Regions from separate parts of the Homo sapiens genome. Here regions 2, 3, 4, 5 and 6 are each linked to region 1. Evidence: promoter capture Hi-C in 16 types of primary human blood cells and fetal thymus (Javierre and others, 2016). All regions are on one chromosome and are shown on one strand. Each heading gives the region's core, a stretch centred on a gene start or on the middle of the fragment in contact. The rest is flanking DNA. Distances are from core to core; before and after follow the strand shown. Region 1 holds the start of MYL12B (myosin light chain 12B). Region 2 overlaps SMCHD1 (structural maintenance of chromosomes flexible hinge domain containing 1). Region 3 overlaps DLGAP1 (DLG associated protein 1). Region 4 overlaps SMCHD1 (structural maintenance of chromosomes flexible hinge domain containing 1). Region 5 overlaps SMCHD1 (structural maintenance of chromosomes flexible hinge domain containing 1). Region 6 overlaps SMCHD1 (structural maintenance of chromosomes flexible hinge domain containing 1).

Region 1 (3,160 bases), core at 512-3,011:
AGCTCAGTCAGGATCTGTACTCAGGAAATCTAGCTCCAGAGCTTGAACCACTAGCCAGTAACATCCTGCATACAGGCAGCTGAAATTCTCTACCATGAAAATGTGGATACCTGGGCATAACAAGCAATGACACCCCAAAGCTAATGTGTAGAATGAGGAAGGAAGATCACAAAGATGCTGGCAAAAAGGGTATGATAAACTCATCCCCAGATATACCTGGAGCCTTTGAATCTTGGGAGAAAGGGAAAACTAGCCCCATGTCGGGGCTCTAAATCCTGTTCTTTCCTAACCCTAGCAACTCTTGTCTGGACATCTGTCCTTCAGAAATTGCAGTTCATCTTGTTCAAGCTTAGTTTCATCAAAGCATAAACGAACATCGAGTCAGCCATCATAAAAGCTGTTTCACTCAAAAGAGCCTAAAGCACTCAAAAGTGCTCTTAGTTATAAAGTCCAGGAGGGTCCACCACCTTCGACAAATTACCTCACCTCTCTGGGTTTCACTTTCCTCAGTTATAAAACGCAAAGCCTTCACAAGGTAATCTATCAGGTCCTACTGAATTCTAAATGCTTTGATTCTTCTCTTACCAAAAGACCATTCCAAATCTACCTTAAACTAAAGCGGCCAAACGAATCCTCTAAACATCCCTTTCTTATTACTCCGTTAGTGAAGACTCCAAAATTACTCTCTATGGCTTCTTAGATAATCTTTTCTTTCTCCTAAGTTTTCAAGACATCCATAAGAAGGTCCTACTTACCTATCTACCCTTATTTCCGACTATTAGTCATTACAGTTCTGTTCCATACCCGCCGGTGTCCCCACGGCCTGCTTTTCACAGGACACAATTCCCAGCTTTTGAGTTTTGCTCGTTACCACCTCCCACACATCTAGCCGGAAACGCTAAGTTCTCCCTCTTAAGGTTGAATCCAAGGCCTTCAGTGAGGTCACGACTCTTTTCCAAGTAACCTTTCCCTATTTCTGTTAATGGTCCTTTCTTCAATCAACACGAATAAACTAAACCTTTACAAGATGCAAGACACACTGAGCGAATTACAACTCTATGTAAATCATCACATTTGAGCCCGTATCAACCACACACTCGGTTACCGGCATGCTAATGGCTTCCTTGGAGGCTTCACCTTAGGCAAGACCGTGCAACAGGAGGCTCCTCCACCCTCCAAAGCATCTAGGATAGTGTTGGGCACAGGGCAGGTGCTCCACACGAACACGCCCGGGTCGGCCCCAATCCACCGCCAGGACCCGCCGCGGCGCCGGGAGGGCAGGCGTTGGCCGCCGGGCAGCCGGGCCGTCCAAGGCCCAGGTGTCTGAGGTCACCCAGGTGGCGCAGGGCCGGCCCACGCACGGCCGGGACCCGGCCACTTCTCCAGCAGGGCGTCTCCCCATACCGGCTCCATCGCCTGCAGCCTCCCGGCCCCTGGACGTCCGGGCCAGGGCCTCGCCACCAACCCTCCTCCCGCCGCCAACCCTCCTCCCTCCACCTCCGGCCCCGCGCCCCCTTCTCAGCCAGTCTGACAGGTCCTGCCGCCGCCTGGCCGCCCTGGGGCGGGGTCCGGCCGCAGGCGCGCGACGGGAGGGGGCGCGGGGGTACGGAGACGGCGGCCCGAGGGGTCTCGCGAGCAGAGTCGAGCGCGACTCACCCGACGCCAAACACCAGAACCGGGGCCGCCCTGCGCGAGACCACAAACGACAGCGAAGAGCGTTAGGCTGTGGCCGGACAGTGGCGGCGCCGACACTTCCTGCCTGAAGGGGCGGAGCGGAAGGCGCACCGGAAGGCGCACCGGAAGGCGCACCGGAAGGCGCGGCGGGACCAAGTGGAACGGGGGTGCGCTGAGTGTTCGCGCCCGGGCCGGCGGGGTCTGCGTGTCCGCCGAGCGGCGGGGCTGCTGAGGCCGGACGCACACGGCCGGGGTCTTAATTGCCCCTCCGGCCTGCTCCGATCCGCTGCGATATCGCGGCCTGCGCTGCGGCGGTCGTCCGCAGCCCGGCCCTCGTCCCCCGCTCCTTTGGTAGCTCCGCCACCCTTCCGCATTCCTGGGCCCGCTGGGCGCGGCTGGGCAGGCCGCTGGAATTTGACCCGAGTGGGCCGCGATCGGCCGAGGATTTGGGGTCCCCTTTGACCCAGGCGGGGCGCGATCCGCCTAGGATTTGGGGTCCCCTGGCGCCGAACCCTGAGTTGCCAGATGTAGCAAGTAAAAGTACAGTTCTTCTAAATTTGAATTTCAGACAAGACAGGTTTTAGGGTTCGTCTCATGTAATGTTGAGAAGGTGAGGGCGGCGCCTGGGCGGATTCTTCTCCGTTCCAGAATCCCTTTCTCTTTTCAAACCGCATTACAGCCCGAGTTAAATTCTTTAACCTACTCCTCTCTGCTTACCCTCATAAGGTTTACGGCCGTATCAGGCTACGGCCGCAGCCTACGGCTGTTTGATTCCCCTTTTGGCCACAAGAAAGTTTTATTCGAACTACTTGCTTTCCTTTATCAAGAAAATGGCAACGCACACACATACATGCACACACAAATAAAAACACAAAGCTACGTTTTTCAGGTTTTGTTCTAGATCGTGTTTGTGGCTGTGTTCTTCAGGATATTTTCCCTCACCTTGAGGTAATCTAGCATTACTTCATCTAGCATTACTAAAATAGCATTACTTCAGGATGGTGGAGGATCGGCAATCTAATAGCAAATCTTTATTGAACTCTTCTTACTGCCTTAACATGTGCCGGATGCTGAGAGATGAATTCAAAGCCTCTTAGGGAGTTTATATTCTAGAAATCTTTGATCAGAAATTCCTAGAAGAGAGGGACCTTGTGTTCAGCACTCTGTAGCAGTTCTTAAACAGTAGCACGCATAATAACAGGGCTTTTAAAAACATTTTTGAGCCTCAAAACCGGGTATCAGGATTCAGTGAGTAAGGGGTGGAGGATAATTCGAATTTCTGGTAAGCACACATGATGCTGATGGGGTGGTCGCCATCCCAGCAGCACAGCTCTAAACGCGGTTCATAACTGTGTGTATTTTCTCAATAGTGTTAGAAAAGCAATTGCTGAAAAGTCACACCTGGTTCTACAATATTTACTCTTAGGTTTTGGTTCGATAGTCTAAATTAAAAAAAAAAAAGTTTCTAGAATTGTGCTGTCCAATA
Region 2 (2,955 bases), core at 37-2,536, 570 kb after region 1:
GAAAACTACAGGGCAGGCTGGACCCAGCTAGCTAAGCCCAAACACATAGTGCTTAAAAGTAAAATCATCCTGGACACCAACCCACTTTCAGAGAATATCTAAAACTTATGGAAGGGAGTTAGTAGGGGAATTTGAGGATAAAATTACAAACTTCTCCATCTGTAGTATGAATCTATGTTTTAAAAAATTGCAGGCCGGGCGTGGTAGCTCACTCCCGTAATCCCAGCACTTTGGGAGGTTGAGGCGGGCAGATCACCTGAGGTCAGGAGTTTAAGATCAGCCTGGCCAACAAGCCGAAACCCCATCTCTACTTAAAATACAAAAGTAGCCAGGCGTGGTGGTACACGCCTATAAACCCAGCTACTAGGGAGGCTGAGGCAGGAGAATCGCTTGAGCCCGGGAGGCTGAGGTTGCAGTGAGCCAAGATCGCGCCACTGCACTCCAGCCTGGGCAACAAGCATGTCTCAAAAAACAAACAAACAAACAAACAAACAAACAAAAAACATGGTATGCACGCATGCGCGTTTGTGTGTGTATTCATATACAGTCATATGTCACATAACATTTTTGTCAACAATTGACTGCAGTGGTCCCATAAGATGATACAGTATTGTAAAATTAGTGTACCTTTTCTATGTTTAGCTACACAAATATTTACCATTCTGTTACAACTGCCTGGGGTAACAAGCTGTACAAATTTGTAGACTAGGAGCAGTACCCTATACCATATAGCCTAGGTGTGTAGCAGGCTATGCCATCTAAGTTTGTATAAGTACACTCTATGATGTTCACATAGCAACAAAATAACCTAATGACACATTTCTCAGAATGCATCCCTGTCCTTAAGTGATAGGAGACTATATCTACTGTGTATGTTGCTATATACATTATAAAACTGTGGAAATAAAAACAGACTAAACTATTCTATCTAGGAAATCAAGTTGATTTTTAAAAATAAGTATGTATGATTACTTGCTTAATTAAAAAGTGTTACAGCTCTTTCAGAATTTGTCTATCAAATTCTAAAATTTCTGATTTAAAAAACAATAAATCCTTAAGACCATACCCCTTCAAAACCATTATAATGCATCTCTATACACTAATTGCTAATATCACAGCTACAATATATACAAGTAACATTTCATATACTTTGAGTCAGGAGATTAGTCTGAATTTACTAACGATGCAAATTCATTATCCAAATATTTATCAAGCATCTTCTGTAAGTCCTATGCCTCAACTTGGGCCTGAGAAAGATAGGTTCAAGATAAATAAGACAGTGCCTTTGTGCTCTACAAATTCCATCTGGTAGGAGATGAAAAAACAAATGATTACAAAACAATATGCTATTATGTATGAAGATATGAACCAAGAGCTACAGAGGTAAAACGAGGGTGACAGTCACCCAGCAGATGACTGAATAATAACATTCCAGACAAATGAGAACATGAATTCAAGAGCATAAAGGAAACAAGGTAGTTTTAGGACATACGATAAACATGATAAAAGATGAAGCGGGATGGCTGAATTAGAGCAGTGGAAAGTGGGTGGAAGAGAGGATAGATGAAAGAAAATAATATAAAAGACAAAATTAAATGTGCTGAATGATTAACAAAAAGGATTACCAACTTTAACTGCATGGCTAGTGGATGCCAGTAATTGTAAAGGGTAGTTGAGAGGAAGACAGGAGAAGGAGAGAATAAGAAAGGTTTACGGATAATATTTGATCTCTTTCTTTTAAGAGACATGGTCTCTCAATGTTGCCCAGCTGGTCTTGAACTCCTGGGCTCAAGAGATTCTCCCTCCGCAGCCTCCCAAACTGCTAGGATTACAGGCATGAGCCACTGTGCCCAGCCAATATTTGACTTCAAAGGTACCAAAAGTGAGTTACTCCTCGAACACCTAAGAAAGAACATCTAATTGAACCTGGAAATGAGTGTACTGGATATGATCAGTTGGTATTCATCACCCATTCCTACCACCTTTTACTGTACTCTCTTGGGCTGCAGAGGTTGGAAGGCAAAAAAATACTGTTTGGATTGTGGATGCAAATTAGTTTTCACCAATTAGATGTACCAGCCAAAATGTGGATGCCAAAAATGAAGCAGAGGCTATTTCCTGAAGTTTTTTAAAAGTTTTGTGTTATCACACAAGGCACTGAAAGATCAGTAACCAGGTTTCAGGTTTAAAGTGTCAAAAGGCCACTGCAGCCCTAGTTATGGCCAGAAACTCTGTTTTCCAGTTTTGGAGCAATTGTGGCAGTGAGATCATTCCAACTCGTGGATCACAGATACAGCAGCGAGTTCCTGAATCCCAGACCCAGTGGTGGTCCTCTAACTGAATGATTATAGCAAATGTTGCAGCATCCCTCCAGGATAACTTCAGATTCCTGGCATCATTCTAGAAGGCTTAGCCCATAATTCATTCCTTTGGCCCTTCCAATAATCAGGTAAGCATCTAATTCCCTCTATTAAATATTTTCTGTTAAAAGGCCCAGGATGGTCTGTTTCCTTTACTGAAGCTAGCATGATTCAGTGTCTCAGTATTGAGAAAAGTTTTCACACGAAACACAGATTTGAGAGCTTTTGACATAAGTAGCAAATAACACATCTTTAGAAAAGGTAAGACTGTTGACTATAGAACAAGAACCACCAATTCCACCCACATTCTGAAAACTGCTCACAGATCAGAGATAGAAGTCCAACAAAAATAGGCTGGAAAAGACTAGTCAGAAAAGGAAACAGACCAGGTACTTGTTGGTACCCAAGAAATGTTTGTTGGGAAGAACTAAGCACAAAACACAGAAAAGGCTGGCAGAAAAATGGTGCTCCAAGAGACACAGTTGTATACAAGCTTTGTAATATGCACACAGTTTTGAAAACCACCTAAATTCTCAATTCCTATTTTTCACCAGTTTTATCATGGCAAGTAATATTTCCACCATTATATTTTATA
Region 3 (3,076 bases), core at 69-2,568, 520 kb before region 1:
AATTTATTGAGCTGAAATGTCTTGTTTTATACAACAGATGCACCACTTGAAAGCAATTTAAAAATAAACACTGCAGTCATTCACTCCTATTTTCCATTAACTTAGCTTATTTTTGAGGTACACTTAAAAGGCTTGGTCTTTGCTCAGTGAGGGCCCCATGTTCTCACCTGTGACTGCAGGTGATTGGTCAAATGCTGAGAGTTCCTTGTCAGAACCAAGGACTGCTGAAGTTGGAGAGTTCCATGCTGGCACGCACCATAGCTAGTCCAAACCCAAGACCACACATACCACTGATAGCCTTTTCCATGGATGACATCTTCTCTGCATTAGAAAGATATTATTCACTAAGCCCACATGTGCCTCTGTAATTTTTACTGGTTTATTCTCATTAAGTATTTTAACAGGTTTATTTCTATTTTCTGTAACTATTTTTGGTTTCCTAGTACTACATAGGGGCCTATCTAGTCATCATCATCGTCATCATAAAAACCAAATGGGAGCATTTGGTGCAAAATAATGCATTTGAATTATCTCAGCCTTTGACCTCTGTGGATGGGAGAATAATGCCCCCCAAAGATGTCTAAATCCCAATCCCTAGAACCTGTGAATTTGTTACCTTACATGACAAAATGGACTTTGCAGATGTGATTAAGTTCAGGATCTTGAGATGAAGAGATTATCCCAGTGAGATCAATGTCATCTGAGGGATCTTATAAAAGGGAGGCAGGAGGGTCTGGGTCAGGGGAGGAGATGACAGCAGAAGCAGAGTTGGAGAGAGAAGGAAGCATTGGAGGATGCTGCACCACTGGCTTTGAAGATGTAAGAAAGGGCCACAGCCAAGAAATATAGACTGCCTCTAGGAGGGAAAAAAGGCTGAAGGAAGCCAGCACACTTTACCCCAAAATATGACTGAACTACAGAAGTAGCCTCAAAGTCCTCAAGGTCTCTCTGACCTGCTCCCCTGCTCCCTTTCAATCCTCTGTTTCTCCTAAGGCATAGGGCGAAGCTTTTCTTCGGTATTCTCTTATCCACCTGGGAACCAGACCCCAAAGAGAACCACAGTTGCCTTCCACCTCCCATCCCTGTAAATCTCATTCGCTATCTCAGAAAAGAACACTGAGGATGCAAACCCACCTGGACAGACCTTTTCACAAGACAATACCTCCCAGGTTCATTCAAAATCCAAATTCCATTTACAAGTTAATTTCTGTCTTCTAGGCCCATTCATTCTCCCTAATGATCATTTACTGCCCCTCAAAAGAATGGTCTACATTCCCCCATGTCCCCCTCCCCTAGGCAGAAGGCTTTATAAGATCTGTACTCCACTGAGTTATTGAGTACTCATTCTCCTGCAATTCTCCCATGCTATGCACATTAGAATAAATGTTGCATGCCTTTTTTTCTATTAATCTGCTTTTTGTCAGCCAGTTTTTCAGTGAACCTTCAGAGGGCGAAGGGGATGTTTTCCTTGGGCCCCTACAAAGCAAAGGAACAGGCTGTCCCCTCCAGCATCCGTAAGCAACTCAGCCCTGCTGAGACCTTGACTGCAGCCCTTAAGACCCATTCCAGCCTTCCAGCCTCCAGAACTGTAAGATAATAACTCTGTGGGTTTTCTAAGCCTCTAAGCTTGTGGTAATTTGTTACAGCAGCAACAGGAAACTAATACAGCCTGTTCTTCAAAACTACTTCCATCAGTGGGAGCACAAATGAAGTGAATGAATGCACAACTGCTGCATAGATTATTTAAAAACATATGAGAAGGGAAGCAGTCATTATTTTTCAGTCTGTAAAGTAAGGTGGATTTTTTTTAAAGGGAGAAGTACCTGGGTTTTCATTTTACAAACCCAGAAAAGGCCTTGCAGCAGGAGCGTGGTTGTATGATACAGGGAGCAGCAAGAAGGCCAGTGGCTGGCAGCAGGAGGACAAGGGACAAGGGGTAGAAGACGAGGCCAGGGAGGCAGCCAGAGCCCTGTCACCTGCATGTTTACAGGTTTCACTTGAATTTTAGAACCAATTCTAGAGATTATCTTTGTTTTCTCAATACAGTTTTTAACAAAATAAAATTCTGGCAGCGCCTTTTCCCCAAGGCTCTCGCTCATTGCACTGGATCCAGACTGGGCCTGGAACGTCCCCCTTTTTTCCTCGTCAGGAGCAGTTCTGTGTGGGCACCCCAGGAGCATCGCGGGCGCAGAGCCGGGCAGGGATCCGGCCGTCATCAAGAGGCCTAATCAGAGAACGCACTGACATTGTGGGTGGGTTGCCGTTGATTGGGAGAAAATGTCTTCAGCATTTGGACACCTGAACAGAGGAGTAAAAATAGATTCTCCAGGATTCTTAAAAAATAACACATACACGGCAGACCCAAGTCATTCCAGAGACTATAACAGCTTACGAAAAAGAAGAAGAAAACGGAAAACAAACCTTGATAGAAAAGAAGGCTAGGATAGAGGTTGGTGAGTACCCGGCCCCCAGGTTGTTGCTACACATCGAGACCCAACAACTAGGGGGGGTCCAAGAAAGAAGCAGCCGAGATGAGGTGCCTTGTGCGCCTAAACAGGCCAACTCGGGGGAGCCTAGGATGCAGCACACAGGAACAAACAATGGCTTGGGGGCTGACACTTCTCCCTTCATCGGCCTCCCACTTACACATGGATTTGCAAACATACACACAAACACAATTTGTTTCTTTACACTCTAGTCTGTGCAATGACTTCCATTGTAGACAAAAGACCTCATGCTCAAATTTGGAAATTATGCTTTTGTTGGACACACAAGATCAGCATACAGAGAGAAAAATGAGCCCACCAGCCAGGGGCCAGGAGCAAAAAGCAGACAAAAAGCAGATTAATTTAAGCACTTTACCTCAGTGCTTAAACATCGGTTTCACTTATGAGGACACATAAGATTCTCACCACCACCAGTATTACCCCTCTCGAAATCGCTGTGGCATCCATAGAAAGGGAAAAGCCTTATATTCACATGTAAGCAACTTCCAAAGGATATTGCTTTTTGTAGTAACCACTTTATTTAGATATAATGCACATACTATATAACACACCCATTTTTTAAGTGTACG
Region 4 (3,156 bases), core at 224-2,723, 530 kb after region 1:
AATTTAAAAAGTAAAAGACATCTTGTATCCATTTGAGGTTCAAGCTATGTTAATAACTGATGTATAATTAGTAGGAAAGTATGAGTTAATCAACCAATTAGATTATCTATCACCATATCAATTACTAAGAAATCACATTTAAGTATTTTACTTAAGTATCTGTTACCCTACTCAGCAACCTTTGAAGTTTTACTTAAGTATTTGTTATCCCACTCCACAACCTTAGATTGTTTACAGCTCTTGCCTCCATGTTGGCTTTGCTATCAGCCACGATGAATCACCAATAAAAAGCATCCTACTGGCACATGATATAGAAATCCCTTTGTGGGCCAGGCACGGTGGCTCACGCCTGTAATCCCAGCACTTTGGGAGGCCGAGGTGGGTGGATCACGAGCTCAGGAGGTCGAGACCATCCTGGCTAACACGGTGAAACCCCATCTCTACTAAAAATACAAAAAATCAGTCAGGCGTGGTGGCGGGTGCCTGTAGTCCCAGCTACTGGGGAGGCTGAGGCAGGGGAATGGCGTGAACCCAGGAGGCAGAGCTTGCAGTGAGCTGAGATCGTGCCACTGTACTCCAGCCTGGGCAACAGAGCAAGATTCCATCTCAAAAAATATAAATAGAAATAAAAAAAATCCCTTTGTGTAAAAACACAAATAAAAAGCTATGTGTGTATAGAAAATTACATACAAAAATTAAAGGTTTATATGTCCTTCCATGGTGGTTTAAACAGAGATATTTACCAAGCTTTCTAAAACAAATGAGAACGATAAAAAGCAAAATGGCTGGGCACAGTGGTGCACACCTATAACTTCAGCACTTTGGGTGGCCAAGGTGGGAAGACTGCTTGTGGACAGGAAGTTGAGATCAGACTGGGCAACACAGCAAGACCCTCTTTTTCAAAAAATAAATAATAAATAAATAACCAGGTGCATTGGTCCTTGTCTATAGTCCCAGTTACTTGGGAGGCTGAGGTGAGCACATCACTAGAGCTTAGGAGTTGGAGGCTGCAGCAAGTCATGATTGTGCCACTGCACTCCAGCCTAGACAACAGAGTGAGACCCTATCTCTTTAAAAAAAAAAAAAAGCGAAAGAATAAAATTATGTATTTTAATAGAAGAAAAATATTTTAGGGAAATGTAAATCAATAATAGTTATAGACACTATAAAAGACACTGTAAAAATCAAGACAATTACTAATATTTGACACAAAATGTTAAAATAGTCATTACAGCATTTCATATTGTCTTTGCTTTGCTTTGGCTGAAAGAACCACAAATACCTCATTTTCAGAAGTTAACAATTTTGCAAAAAATGTTATTAAGCAGTTGAAGACTATTTGTATGAAGACTCAATATAATATCAATGAGTAACAATAATAACTTACAGGTATTTCAATTCTTGCTTTAAGCGTCTGGTCTTTTTTAATATTCTGAACTTGAATTGCAGATCCTGTTAAAATACTGGTTCCAGAACTACTGCAATCTACAACATAGACTGGAAGGTTTGGAGCACCTGAAAACTATTTGAAAGATGAAAAATAATGTAAGACCCCTATTAAATATATTTGATTCTTCCGTAATTGTTCAAAGTTTCAAATAATTCAGTAGAGCTACTATTTCTGGCAATGAATAAGAAAATTCTAAGTAAAAGTCACTAAAACTCTAGAATACTGAACAAAAACAGTAATTTTCTACTATACTATGTAAAATTTATCTGTTTTGGAAGGAAAGAACTAACTTCCTCAATTACAATCCTTTTCTTTTTTACTTAACTGGATTTTCTTTTTCTTTCTGCGGTCTTTTACCTACCTTCATTTAGTCATCATTCCCTTTTTTTTTTTTTCCCTAAAGTAAAGGAATAAAGAATGGCTACTCCATAGGCAGAGCAGCCCATTCCCAATCCTGAAAGACATTTTTGTCTTTCTATTCATATATATGAAATGAGAGGCATGGAGTCAAGAGAGGAGAGGTGAGTAAACTTTTATTCACAAATTTATGAAACTGGGCACAGTTGGCATCTTTATTGGTTTAGGTACGATTAAAAAAAAAAAACTATTGGCAATAAGATCCCACAAATCCTTCCACGGAATAATCGTTTCAGACTTAAATCCTGTGTAAGACTTACTATTAAGTGGCTAAAATAGTCATTGCCACTTACTACAATGGGACTCAATCTAAATATCTTCCAATAAGCTTACCTTACAATGAACAATCAATTTTGGTTGTGCTGTTATGTTGTCTGATTCATCTAAAACTTCCACCTGAAATGGGAAAGCTGTTCCATTTTCTATAACTAAAATTTCAGAATCAGGTTTCACTTTCAGTCGACGAGGGTGACCTAACAGTAAATTATACAATGAAATACATATTCAGGTTTCAAAGACTAAAGTACTGAAATAGCAAAAGAAATAACTTTAACATTAAAGACTTAATATTTTATAAATATTGCCAAGAAAGAAAAATATAGGCAATGTCCATGCTTAATCAGTTTCATCCCAAAATGCACAGATTCAATACATGACAAGACTTATCTCAATTGTATAAAATGCTTGGTGTCTAGGCTAAGTTTTATTCCACAAGGTACAACACAGTGATAATTCATATTAGAAATCACCTAAAATCTTTAAAAGATACTGGGAAAAAGGTATTCAAAAACAAAAATAACAGCTTATTAAAACTATTTACCAATCTTACCTGATGATTTTTCTGGCACAAGTAACTATATGTTTTAGACATTCAAAGAATTAGTTCTTGTAATGACATGATCAGGTCATTTACTTGTTAGATTGCCCACTACCTCTGATGTCATAAGCAATTAACATCACAAATTTCCTTTAAGATTAAGAAAAGTAGGCTTATACTTCTACAGTAAGCCAGTCTGATTCGTTCATAAACACTGATATTTTAAAATTCAATTAATGCTACATACTGATAACAAGTATATGGAGAGAATTACTTAAAATATTTTATTTTGTACTAATATTAGTTATATTCATTCATTTACTATATATGAAGCACTGTGCTAAGTTTTTTTAAGCACTATTCTTACGTAAACTTCACAATAATCTTAATGAAGACGTTACTATTATCATCATCCCCATTTTACAGGTAAGGAAACTGGGATTCAGAGAAATTAAGTATTTTGTCCAGGTCA
Region 5 (3,160 bases), core at 67-2,566, 510 kb after region 1:
CAAATCCTAAAACCCATCTCAACTTAATAGAACCTAAAGAGTAGGTAATAATGGTACATGCAGACAGGAAAAGCAATAGCTGAACAGGAAAAAATGAGAAAGGGTACTTGAAATGATAGGATGAAATCCTATGTTTATACCTGTCCCAATTACCCTCTGGTCCATTGTCTCTCAACCCATCTTTCTCAAAGTATGTCTCCCATCTGGGTATCAAATCCTTACTGCTAAGCCAGAGAAGTAAGTCTTTTCAGGTCTTAGAGCAGCAGTATCATAGCCTCATTTAACAGACTCATTTAAAAACTCCAACTGTAATTACTATGAAAACAGGTCCATGTGTAACAAGCCATTCTTGGCACTTTAATCTTCCATACGACTTTTAAGATCACCTTTTCAGGTTCTGGGAAATCCCTGTTGGGATTCTGATTGAACTATAAATAATTGCAAGAGAAACATCATCTTTACATGATATCAACTGGTTTCTCCATTACATTTATATTTATTTTTTATATGTGGAGGGATACTCAAGATTGTCTGAATATGACCCCAACTCCCTCTGGCTTGCTTAGCAACAACCTGGCTGGGACCAATGAATTCCCTTCAACCAACAGAAGAGACAGTATAAAAATACAACTTTATGGCCAGGCGCAGTGGCTCACACCTGTAATCCCAGCACTTTGGGAGACCAAGGCGGGTGGATCACCCGCGGTCAAGAGTTTGAGACCAGCCTGGCCAACGTGGTGAAACCCCGTCTGTACTAAAAATACAAAAATTAGCTGGGCATGATGGCACATGCCTGTAATCCCAACTACTCAGGAGGCGGAGGCAGGAGAATTGCTTTGAACCTGGGAGGCAGAGGTTGCAGTGAGCCAAGATCACGCCACTGCACTCCAGCCTGGGGCGTTGCAGCGAGACTCTGTCTCCAAAAAAAAAAAAAAAAAAATTTATATACACACACACACACACACACACACACACACACACACACACAACTTTGCAAAGACTAGCAGCTTTTCCTCTTTCCCCTAGAAGGAGTGCCTCCAACTTTGCACCAGCCACTAGATCCCATGCAGCTTCTCAATACTCATAGGAATAAATGATACCTAATCTTGAACTTTCTGGTAGTCAAGACTGTTCCCAAACTTTACAAGACCATGTTCATACTTGCCCCATAAAAAGAACAATAAAGGGCAGGAGCCTCACCCTAAAATATATCAGTATGTTCCAGTAGCTCTGCCCAGGATTTGGTAGCTCTCCATAAGATAAGTAGAGGATAGGTACCTGCAAGACTTTTTTTGTTTAGCCTCACCATGTATGTTTCCCCAATAATGCCTGTTCCTTAATCCATTCTGTAGGTCACTGTGATATCTGTCTTCATTCACTTTGTCAGTGTTAATTATCTATTTATTCATCCTAATCTGAAATGCAAGTCTTACTAGCACTATATAAGAAACACTAAAACAGCCATAACTGTACAATGTTGGCCCCTTGTTGTACTACTGTAAGATATAAACTTTATTTCCTCAAAATAATTTTAAAAATTTTTGAGGTTTATTTACACTAAGCAATAATAAAGATTATGTAAAATATATTTTTTAGAAAAGAAGCAATATGACAGCTAAAGATACTATCATGAAAATGAAATCCAGAATTTTAAATGAAGATGTAAGGAAGTTTAAAACTTACCTTTAAATTGCTAGCTTTTGTAAGACTTATTTTAACATGTTGTACCGGTGCTGGATTATCCCACTGATCACAAAGTTGAACAATAATAGGGTTCTGTAAATCTCTTCCATTAATCACTGGAATGGACTGAAAAGAATAGAAATATTTTAAGAAACACTAAAATATATGGGCCAAACAATGCAATTACTTGTATATTTGTGTAACGATCACTTAATTTATCTCTGTTCTATTTGCAAATGGCTTCTTTGGTCAATGAAAATGAACTTTTGAAAGCCAACTAAATTGTGTGACCCTCTTATCAAAATGATAAATGATCTGAAAAAAGAAAAAGCAACACCTGACATTACAGTCTTCCCTCAGTATCCACAGGAGATTGGTTCTAGACCCCAGTGGATACCAAAAGCTGCAGGTACTCTTTTATATAAAATTGCATAGTATTTGCATATAACCTAAGCATACACTTGAAATCATCTTTAGATTACTTTTAACATCTAATACAACGCAAATGCTATGTAAGCACTAGAATGTGTTCAACAGCAACAGAAACCTATCTTTGGTTCTCAGATTTAGCATTGGCAATCTGTAGTTTAGCTTCTCCCTCAGTCAGTGTTCAGCTCTCTGCTATTGTGCATTAAAAGCAGTAACATGGCTTTCTAGCCCTTGGTTAAATAGGACTATTCACTGATGATCTACACTGTCTTGCTGATTTAAAATGCTTCTTGCTGTTTCCCCAGCTAGTATATAAGGCTGTATAAATCTAGAAATCTGCCTACTGACCTATTAATATTGGGCACATCAAAGGAAACACAGTGTTAAACAAGATACCTGACAAAAGCCCAATCCCCTGGGCCAACATTTTAAAAGTTTACAAAAGATGGAAGGGAACTAAAGGACAACTACAAAAAAAAACTGATTTATCACCTCTCCTCTAACAAGAAAGTTCCTTCTGCTGCTTCTACCCCCTACTCTTAACTGAGGTAGCTGGTTACCAGATTATGGGGAAAGGCTGCTGAAAATGGAAAGAAAAATTAACAGTCTGCTATGAATAAGACATTATGAAAAAAACCAAACACCCTTGAGATTGGTTTAGTTATGTCCCTCTACCATAAAGTTTACACAGCTACAGCCATGTTCCCTCTGCCAAAGTTTATAAAAAGCTTGAATTTTGAAAACTGCTGAGTTTCCAAATGTAAACATACAGTATTTCATTCCTAATCAAATAACTGTTTACCCAAACTACCTTTAAAGGACAGTCTAAGTTTTTAAAGGACTCCTATCTACTTTTAAAGGTTATCTTTAAGTAAATGACTTGTAGTCCAAACTGCTAATGTTTTCTAGAAAATAGTAGAAAAAGCAAATTTCCAAAATCAAATGTCCATAAGCATTTTAATATCACATTTAATGTCACTTTTTAATACTGGCATGTTAATATTTCAGAATTTCAGTTTCCTCATTTACTTGTATTTTATTTTATTTT
Region 6 (3,214 bases), core at 262-2,761, 550 kb after region 1:
CAAGAACTCACACAATAAGCCCTTCATGAGAGATGTGCACCTATGACTCCAAAACCTCCCATTAGGTCCCACCTCCAACACCGGGGATCAAGACAAACATCCAGGCCGGGCGCGGTGGCTCACGCCTGTAATCCCAGCACTTTGGGAGGCCGAGGCGGGCGGATCACGAGGTCAGGAGATCGAGACCATCCCGGCTAAAACGGTGAAACCCCGTCTCTACTAAAAATACAAAAAATTAGCCGGGCGTAGTGGCGGGCGCCTGTAGTCCCAGCTACTTGGGAGGCTGAGGCAGGAGAATGGCGTGAACCCGGGAGGCGGAGCTTGCAGTGAGCCGAGATCCCGCCACTGCACTCCAGCCTGGGCGACAGAGCGAGACTCCGTCTCAAAAAAAAAAAAAAAAAAAGACAAACATCCAAACTATACATAACAACCAAGTGAGATTTACTCTTGGAATGCAAGCATGGCTCAACAAATAAAAAACAAACAAGGCTACGTGCAGTGGCTCATGCCTGTAATCCTAACACTTTGGGAGACTGAGGCAAGAGGTCATTTGAGGCCATGAGTTTGAGACTAGCCTGGGCAGCATAGGAGACCCTGTCTCCACCACAAAAAAAAAAAAAGGGAGCCATGGTGGCTCAGGGCAGTTGTCCTGGTGCATAAGGAGGTGAGGCTACGCGTTCGAGGCCAACCTCGTCAATATTTTTAAAAAACTCTCATCCATTGATAAAAAGAAAAAAAAAAATTAGCTGGGTGCAATGAGCATGTCTGTAGTCCTAGCTACTCAGGAGGCTGACGTGGGAGGACCACTTGAGCCCAGGAGTTTGAGGCTGCAGTAAGCCACGACTGTGCCGCATCATTCCAGCCTGGGTGACAGAGTGAGAACCCGTCTCAAAAAAAACCCCAAAAAACAAAAAACAACCAATCAACGCAATACATCACTTTGAGAGAATAAACCTACATAATTATCTGGACTGATGCAGAGAAAACATTTGGGAAAACAATACTCTTTCATGATAAAAACACTACACAAGGAATAGAAAGAAACTTCTTCAACATGATAAAGGCCTTATATAAGACCCGCAGTTAACATCGCATGTACTCAACTGTTAAAGACTTAAAAGCTTTTCCTCTAACATCAGGAACAGGACAAGATTCTCATTTTGGTTACTTCTATTCAACATAGTATTTTAAGTCCTAGCCAGACCAATTAGGTAAGAAAAAGAAATAAAAGGCATCCACTTTGGAAAAGAATAAGTTATTTCCGTTCATAAATGACATGTTCATATATGAAAAAACCTAAATAATCCATAAAAAAAACCCTGGTATAGCTAATAAACTCAGCAAAGTTGCAGATACAAAATCATGTTCACGGATTGAATGACTTACAATTGCTAAGGTAAAAATAATACTCAAAGTGATCTGCATATTCAGTGTAATCCCTACCAGGATCGCAATGGTGTTTTCTGCAGAAATAGAAAAACGCATCCTACATTCATAGGGAATCTCCATGGACCCAAATAGCCAAAACAATCTTAAAAAACAAGAATAAAGTTGGAGGACTCACACCTCCTCATTTTAAAACTTACAAAGCTACAGTAAACAAAAACAGTGCAGCATGGGCATATGAACAGACATATAGACCTAGGGAACAGGGAGCCCAGAAATAAATTCTCACATATGTGGTCAACTGACTTTCAACAAGTGGGCCAAAACAATTCAATAGAGAAAGTATAGTCTTTGACAAATGGTGCTGGAAAAACTGGATATCTACAGGCAAAAGAAGTTTTCCATATAAAAAGAAGTTAACCATATGCAAAAGTCAAGGTCAGATGGATCAAAGTAATAACAACAGAGCTAAAGCTATAAAATTTGTAAGGAAAAAACATTCAGGAAAAGCTTCGTAACACTGAATTTAGTAACAATCTCTTGGATAAGACACCAAAAGCACAGCCAACAAAAGAAAAAAGAAACTAATTGTTTGTCAAAATTAAAAAGTTTTGTGCATCACAGTCACCATTGACAAAGTGAAAAAGCAACCCACAGAGTGGAAGAAAATATCTGTAAATCATTTATCTGATAAGGGATTAATATCCAGGATTATAAAGAACTCTTACAACTCAACAACAAAATTTAAAAATGGCCAAAGGACCTGAATAGACCTTTGTCCAAAGAAGATATACAGATGGCAATTAGCCCATAAAAAGATGGCCAAAATCACTGAATATTGGGGAAATGCAAATCAAAACCACAATTATCTTTAGTAGGAAAAAGGGGGGAAAAAACCACAGTAAGATACCACTTCATATCTGTTAGGATGGCTATTATCCGTCCCCCACAAAAAAACCCACAGGAAATAACAAGTGGGGGTGACATGGAGAAACTGGAATGTACAATGAGGCAACCACTGTGGAAAACAGTACGGCAGTTTCTCAATAAATTAAATAATAATATGACCCAGCAAGTCCACTTTTGGGAATGTATCTAAAAGGAACCAAAGCGGAGACTCAAAGAACTATTTGTACACTGATGTTCACAGGAGCATTCTTCACGATAGACAACAGGTGAAAGTAACCTGAGTATCCATCAAACAAATGGATAAACAAAATATGGTGTATGTGTATACATGTGTGTGTGTATATATATATATATATACACATATACACATATATACACACACAAGGGAATATTATTCAACCTTAAGAAGGAATGGGAATTCTGACACACTATGCTAAGCGAAACAGGCCAGACACAAAGGACAAATATAATTCCATTTTTATGAGGTACCTAAAATAGTCAAATTCAGAGACAGAAAGTTAAAAAGTAGTTACCAGGGCAGGGAGAAAGGAGTGATGAAGAGTTATTACTATAGAGTTTCAGTTTGAAATGATGAAAAAATGCTTTACATGGATAGTGGTAATGGTTGCACAACAATATGAATGTACTTAATGCCACTTCATAAATTTCATGTTAATATGTTATATATATATATATATATATATATATATATATATATATATGAAGTTATTGAAAATAGAAGCAGGGACCAGCCTGACCAATATGATGAAACCCCATCAAACCCCATCTCTACTAAAAATACAAAAATTAGCTGGGAGTGGTGGCATGTGCCTGTAATCCCGGCTACTCAGGAGGCTGAGACAGGAGAATTGCTTGAACAGGGGAAGCGGAGGTTGCAGTGAGCCTAAATTGTGCCATT

The links. Contacts are between HindIII fragments. The CHiCAGO score rates a contact against its expected background, and 5 or more counts as called.
Region 2: a fragment that was not itself captured here is called in contact with the fragment with the promoter of MYL12B in region 1 in 1 of 17 cell types (neutrophils); the score reaches 6.2 in neutrophils.
Region 3: a contact is called between a fragment that was not itself captured here and the fragment with the promoter of MYL12B in region 1, in 2 of 17 cell types (M1 macrophages and M0 macrophages). The highest score is 5.8, in M1 macrophages.
Region 4: a fragment that was not itself captured here is called in contact with the fragment with the promoter of MYL12B in region 1 in 1 of 17 cell types (neutrophils); the score reaches 6.6 in neutrophils.
Region 5: a contact is called between a fragment that was not itself captured here and the fragment with the promoter of MYL12B in region 1, in 1 of 17 cell types (neutrophils). The highest score is 7.9, in neutrophils.
Region 6: a contact is called between a fragment that was not itself captured here and the fragment with the promoter of MYL12B in region 1, in 1 of 17 cell types (neutrophils). The highest score is 6.6, in neutrophils.

What each region holds. Positions count from the first base shown.
Region 1 is chr18:3,260,734-3,263,893 of GRCh38, reverse strand. It overlaps MYL12B (myosin light chain 12B), which reads right to left and starts at 1,761. Exons shown (of 4, transcript NM_033546.4): 1 at 1,657-1,761. MYL12-AS1 (MYL12A and MYL12B antisense RNA 1) reads left to right here and starts at 1,535. Exons shown (of 4, transcript NR_130145.1): 1 at 1,535-1,841; 2 at 2,564-2,622. RefSeq lists a silencer at 1,216-2,105 and an enhancer at 2,316-2,365. The HindIII fragment of the contact is 3,443 bases long and covers 351-3,160 here.
Region 2 is chr18:2,691,168-2,694,122 of GRCh38, reverse strand. All of the region lies in intron 7 of SMCHD1 (structural maintenance of chromosomes flexible hinge domain containing 1), which reads right to left. Among named protein-coding and RNA genes, the nearest start is that of SMCHD1, 37 kb to the right of the region's middle. The HindIII fragment of the contact is 3,138 bases long and covers 1-2,855 here.
Region 3 is chr18:3,783,735-3,786,810 of GRCh38, reverse strand. All of the region lies in intron 5 of DLGAP1 (DLG associated protein 1), which reads left to right. Among named protein-coding and RNA genes, the nearest start is that of DLGAP1-AS3, 93 kb to the left of the region's middle. The HindIII fragment of the contact is 620 bases long and covers 1,009-1,628 here.
Region 4 is chr18:2,727,641-2,730,796 of GRCh38, reverse strand. SMCHD1 (structural maintenance of chromosomes flexible hinge domain containing 1) reads right to left here. Exons shown (of 48, transcript NM_015295.3): 23 at 2,201-2,340; 24 at 1,388-1,522. Among named protein-coding and RNA genes, the nearest start is that of SMCHD1, 73 kb to the right of the region's middle. The HindIII fragment of the contact is 1,448 bases long and covers 750-2,197 here.
Region 5 is chr18:2,746,171-2,749,330 of GRCh38, reverse strand. It overlaps SMCHD1 (structural maintenance of chromosomes flexible hinge domain containing 1), which reads right to left. Exons shown (of 48, transcript NM_015295.3): 30 at 1,684-1,809. Among named protein-coding and RNA genes, the nearest start is that of SMCHD1, 92 kb to the right of the region's middle. The HindIII fragment of the contact is 3,053 bases long and covers 1-2,842 here.
Region 6 is chr18:2,708,671-2,711,884 of GRCh38, reverse strand. The region is part of intron 17 of SMCHD1 (structural maintenance of chromosomes flexible hinge domain containing 1); the gene reads right to left. Among named protein-coding and RNA genes, the nearest start is that of SMCHD1, 55 kb to the right of the region's middle. The HindIII fragment of the contact is 775 bases long and covers 1,124-1,898 here.